Regions from separate parts of the Homo sapiens genome. Here region 1 is linked to region 2. The links are contacts of gene promoters, found by promoter capture Hi-C in human tissues and cell types (Jung and others, 2019). All regions are on one chromosome and are shown on one strand. Each heading gives the region's core, a stretch centred on a gene start or on the middle of the fragment in contact. The rest is flanking DNA. Distances are from core to core; before and after follow the strand shown.

The links. The method cuts DNA at HindIII sites, captures the fragments that hold promoters and counts their contacts. A contact is called where the count stands out against the background at its distance.
Region 1: a fragment that was not itself captured here is called in contact with the fragment with the promoter of SLC19A1 in region 2 in 2 of the 25 tissues and cell types used here (H1 embryonic stem cells and IMR-90 fibroblasts).

Annotation. Positions count from the first base shown.
Region 1 is chr21:45,669,094-45,671,793 of GRCh38, forward strand. The region is part of intron 2 of PCBP3 (poly(rC) binding protein 3); the gene reads left to right. Among named protein-coding and RNA genes, the nearest start is that of PCBP3, 27 kb to the left of the region's middle. The HindIII fragment of the contact is 6,647 bases long and covers 1-2,700 here.
Region 2 is chr21:45,540,937-45,543,907 of GRCh38, forward strand. It overlaps SLC19A1 (solute carrier family 19 member 1), which reads right to left and starts at 1,504. Exons shown (of 6, transcript NM_194255.4): 1 at 1,432-1,504. RefSeq lists silencers at 938-997, 1,348-1,657, 1,698-1,777 and an enhancer at 1,632-2,144. The HindIII fragment of the contact is 13,138 bases long and covers 1-2,971 here.

The DNA.
Region 1 (2,700 bases), core at 165-2,664, 130 kb after region 2:
ATTTTCTTCAGCTATTGCTTCTGCATCATCTCTTTTCTTTCTTTCTGGGACTCTGATTAAATTTGTGTTAGATTTCTCACCATATATTCTCATGCTCTCTCTTATATTTCTGGATTTTGGCCACTCCACTTTACTTTGAATATTTTATTTTATTTTGACCTAGTTTCCAGTTCACCAATTCTTTCTTCAGCAGCACTCAATCTGCTTTAAAACCCATTCATGACTTTATAACTTTTCAGTTTTAGATTAAAAAAAATTGAAACTGTTACTTTTTGTAGCTTCTAATTTATTGTTTCTGTTTTTAACTATAGCAACTATAGTTTTAAAATTTTAGTTAAACATATATAACATAAAATTTGCCATTTTAAAGAGTACATTTTATGTGTACAATTCTGTGACATTAAGTACATTCATGTTGTTGTGCAACCATCCATCTCCAATACTCTTTTCATCTTGCAAAACTGAAACTCTTTACACATTAAACAATAACTCCCTCTCCCAAACCCCTGGCAACTACCATTCTACTTTCTGTTTCTATGAATTTGACTACTATAGATACTTCATATAAGTGAAGTCATAAATATTTTTCCTTTTGTGACTGGCTTATTTAATGTAGCGTACTGTCTTCAGGGTTCATCCATGTTGTAGCATGTGTTGGAATTTCTTCCCTTTTTAAGACTGAATAATATTCCATTGTGTGTGTGTGTGTGTGTATATATATATATATATATATATATATATATATATATATATCACATTTTGTTTATTCATTCTTTGATGGACACTTGGGTTGCATCTACCTTTTGGCTATAGTGAATAATGCTGCCATGAACTTGGGTATACAAATATTTGAGTCCCTTGCTTTTACTTAATTTGTGCCTATACCTAGAAATGGAATTACTAGATCATATGCTAATACTTTTCTTAACTTTTTGAGGAATGACTGTATTGTTTTCATAGCAGCTCCGCATTTTACATTTCTACCAGCAATGCACAAGGGTTCCAGCTTCTCCACATCCTAACCAACACTTATTATTATTTTGATAATAGCTATTCTAATGGGTATGAGGTGACATCTCTTTGTAGTTTTGATTTGCTTTTCTCTAATGATTAGTAATGTTGACCATTTTTTCTTGTGCTTATTGCCCAGTAGTATGTGTTATTGAGAGAAATGTCTATTCAGGTCATTTGCCAGATTTTTAATTGGGTTGTTTGGGTTTTTGTTATTATACAAGTGTAGTTGTTAAAATAGACTATGTTGGGTAATTCCAACTTCTTGTCTTTGTAGATATGTTTTTGTTTTCTGTGATTTCTACTCTTTCTTCCTCAATGGGTCACTAATTTCTTTTAGGCTACTAGACATTTGTATTTGCAGAATATTTTGAGGAATAATTTGAAATAATTTGGGATGATTATTGTTTTTAGAGAGGTTTTCATCAGGTACTGCTAAGGTTCTTAAAGGAGCAAGCTTAATCCAGTGTAGTCTTAAGGACAACCGGATGAGTAGAACAAAGGCTCAGTGCTTGGGAGGGCTGACTTGCTTCTGAGGACTTATTCTTTACCTTGAGGGGTTAGCCCTTTGTGGTTCCAGTGCAAATTGAGGGGTGGTTTCTCAGTATCTGATTCATGCTTTTACTCTGTATCTCTTCCCCCCAATTTTTGGATATTTTGGTTAACTTTCAATCCCACAAATTTCAGGGCCTTACATGGTAAAATTTACTTCTTGCTCATGTAACAGTTCACTGTGGATGTACCTCATCAGTGATCAGGTTTCCTCTGTGTGGTGATTCGGCCCAGCTCCTCACAGTGGGTGGTCATGCCATCTGCTACGGAGGTGGCATCCTTATCCTCTAGGCCCAGCTTCCTGTCAGTCCAGCTGGCAGATGAGAGAGCACACATGGAGAAGGCACACATGCTTCTCAGCCATGTTGGCCCAAAAGTGACGAGGACCATGATCTGTATCTCTTCATACTTTCCACTGGCAAGATCCAGTGATGGGGTTCTATCTAGATGCAGGCATGAAATCTGCAGTGTGTTGTTTGTGGTTGACAGTTGCTTCCCAGTTTCAATGCTGTCCTGGGAAAGGGGAGCACAGTTCTTTATGAACAGTTAGTTATCTGCCTCAGTCCTTCGCCTTGGCACACCCTTCTTTCACGACTGTCATGCACTCATCTCTCCAGGGACACAATCCAGAGTTGCCCCAGTTACTGTGTCTTGCACAAAGGATGGATTTCTAGCATTGTGTGGTCTTTATCAAATCCAGTTGTCGCTCTTGTCGTTTGATGACTGAACTGACACACAGGTTGTCTGCTGTTCACACTGTACAATAGTGGAGCCAAACCAAGCCAATTGCAATTTTTAAAACTTCCATTTTGGAAGGGGAGAATGGAAGATAAACATCAGTTCTTGGTCCACAGTTAGAGCAACATCCCATGGGCAAGTATTATGAAGGCATCTATCAATGTTTTCTAAGCAAAGGCCACTAGACACTCACCTGGGAACCATGGGGTGTTGTGGTAAGAGGGCGTTAGAAAGAACCTGTTACAGGATTTGGGCTTTGGTTAGGTGATTTGGGGGAGGGTTCAAGAAAGTGGGATGGTATCAGTAAGTGGGGACAATTTTTTGATGAGTGTCTGTAAATCTTATCTACAAGGAGGTTAGACTGGAGTGAGGTTAAAGCTGTGATTGGTAAAGAAACAG
Region 2 (2,971 bases), core at 254-2,753:
CCTATCATTCCGTGTTTAAACCAGCTCCTACTCTGGAAGGCTAACCAAGAATGTTCGTTATGTTTTTTAGAACGCCTGCTAGTTTAAAAAGAAGAAGAAGAAAGCATTGCACACCCTCCCACCCCTGTTCAGATGACCAAGTTCAGGGTTCCTAACAGCATAATTAGACCCTCCGGCTATCACTGCTGCAGGCCCAAACACCCGAGAAGCACTCTTTCTCATCTGTGTCCAGCAGAGATAACTGTACTATCTGGAATTATAAAAATCCACCAAAGCCCCTTCGGAAAGAAAGCAATTAGCAATTGCAACAAGCAGTGCACAGGTGGCACCCAGGCAAAGGCGGCCAGTGAGATGCAGCCTGGCTCCCAGGCCTGGACAGGGCAGGCAGGTGCACTGGGCCAGAGGCACCTCGGCTCTGCTGATTGAATCTGGGCTGTGCGGGGATCCTCGGGTCTCCGTAGGGGGAGGCCACCTCTTTACAGGGCGGCCAACAGGCGCCTCCAAGGACTTTATCCCACCTTCCCTCTGGATGCATTCTGGATTTCGGGGCCAGCTTAGTTGGCCTGTGTCCTGAGGCCAGGCAGGCCAGACTCCCCAGGACAGGAGTTTCCGATGGACAGGACCCTAGGGGGATGGCTTTCCTGCTGTAGCGGTGTTGGAAGGACCCACTCGGGAAAGGCTCCAGCGGCTGTCCAGGCTCTCTCTGAGACGCCTCGGGATTGCTCCGCTGGATCCGCACCCACAGCTGCTCCAAGGGGAAGTTGCACCTACAAAGCTTCTGGCACAGGAGACAATGGTCTGGAGATGTGCCAGGGGCCCGCCCCACGCGTGGCTGGCAGGGTTCACCCACCGGCTGGCCCGTCCCGAAGCAACACGTGCCTGGGCGCGAACGCCGGATCCACGCTTTCCTCCAGACCCGGGGGTGGGACTTGGCGCCCCAGGATGACGCGGAGGGCAGGCTGGGGGCCGGGACTCCCCACCCCATTCGCAGGCTGCGGCGGAAAGCGAGCGGCGGGAAACCCGCTGCACAGCAACGGTTCTGCCAGGCGCCCGGGCCACCGCGACCCCCGCGGAGACCCCGGCCCACGCCCCGCACCCTCCCCAGGGCCCCCCAGACCCCAGGCTGCAGACCGCAGACCCCGGCCACGCCCCGCACCCTCCCCAGGGCCCCCCAGACCCCAGGCTGCAGACCGCAGACCCCGGCCCACGCCCCGCACCCTCCCCAGGGCCCCGCGGACCCCAGGCTGCAGACCGCAGACCCCGGCCCACGCCCCGCACCCTCCCCAGGGCCCCGCGGACCCCAGCGCCAGCCCCCACACTCACCTCACAGGGCCCTGCAAACCTCGGCCCGCGCCCCGCACTCACCCCAGGGCCCCGAGACACCCCGCAGCCCCCGACACGCGGCCCCGTGGCCCCGTTCCCCACCGGTACCTGCGACTCGGCGGGGCGGCTGCCCTGGGGCTCCCGGACCCGGCCCCGCGCACGCGGACTCCGGGACTACAGCGCCCACAAGGCGGCGCGGCGGGCGCGCGGCTGCGGGGTGGGCGGGTCCGTCCCGCCGAACGCGTCCTGAGGGCGGGGCCTCGCGCGTGGCCGGGCGCTGCGGCAGGAGCGTCCCCACGGGGCACCCTCCCACCCACGGCCGTCTCCCAGCCCCGGCGCCGGCCTCTCCCCACCCGGTCACCGCCGGGGTCACGCGGCCCCTCGTGCTGCGGCCCTACCCCTGGGGCCGCCCCCTGACCCCGACCGCCCCTCGGGCCCCCACCCCCGCCGGCGTCAGCATCCTGGGGTGCCACTCGCGGAGGTGTCGGTCCCTCGGGCGGGCACCCTGCCATCCCTCTCCCCCGCGTTCTTCCCACCCCCGGTCCCCTCCTGACCCCCCCTCCTCGACGAGGCCTTGTGCGTTTTCCTTTTGGCACCCTGGAACACCTGCATTCCTGGCCGCAAGCTGGATCCGGGACGCGGGTCGGGCCCACGCGCCCTCAGGGGTGGCCCTGGGCCGCCTTCGTGGGGCTCCAACAGGGACACGCACAGCCTGCTCTTGGGGACCGCACGGCCCCGAACTCGGCGCCCCCGGGACCCCGCCGCCCGCCCTCCTGCCTGACCGTGACCCGTACGGGCTTGTACCAAGGAGCAAGCCGGATCCAGGACGTGGCCCGGGGCCACCAGTCCCCATCCCAGCAGGGACAGCCCGGGGGAGACCCGCGCAGGCCTCGCAGACGGCAGCGCAGTCACACTCAGGAAGGGGGGCCTGGGCCACTCTCCCAGGAAGGCGTGGGGCTGCGGCAGACAGCACCGCCGAAAGCCCAAGGCCTGTGCAGGACACGGGGAGAAGTGGGGGGCCTCAGGGTCACTTTCCCCTGGAGTTACCCAGGGCCTGGCTATGGGGAGGGAAGCCAAGCCGAGGGCTGTGGGGGCCCCAAGGCTAAGGAGGAGCCAGGAAGTCCACTGCACAGAACAGAAGGGGACGGCCACCGTGGTACCCACAGCTCAAGAGTGCGGGTCCCAGGCGAGGGGTGAGTCTGGGGCAGCAGCCCCTGGAATGTACCCCTTCCGGAGTGTAGACAGCACAATCCGCGACCTGCCTCCTGGTGTTGCGGGGGTGCTCTTGGTCTCCCGCCCACCAGCAGGGCAACCCCACCAGGAAGCCAACACAGGGCCCTTGCCCTAAATGGCCGCCTGCCCAAAGCTCTGGCCTGGGCCTTCTTTCCAGAGTCCTGAGTGTAGCAAGCCACACGAACAAATCTCAAAGGAACTTAAAAAGGATTTGTTGGCTGGAAATGGGGGATCTGGGGTAGCTTGCAGAATTTAAGGGAACACTACAGGATGGAGCGCCTCACCTGGAGGGACCCCCTGCTTTGTGGGAGCCCTGGCTCTCTCCCCTGTACTGGCCTTCTCCACGGGTGGGCAGAACCTGGCCCTGCTGGAAGACAGGAGGGGCAACGCGGAGGAGGAGGGGCCCTTCCTTCCC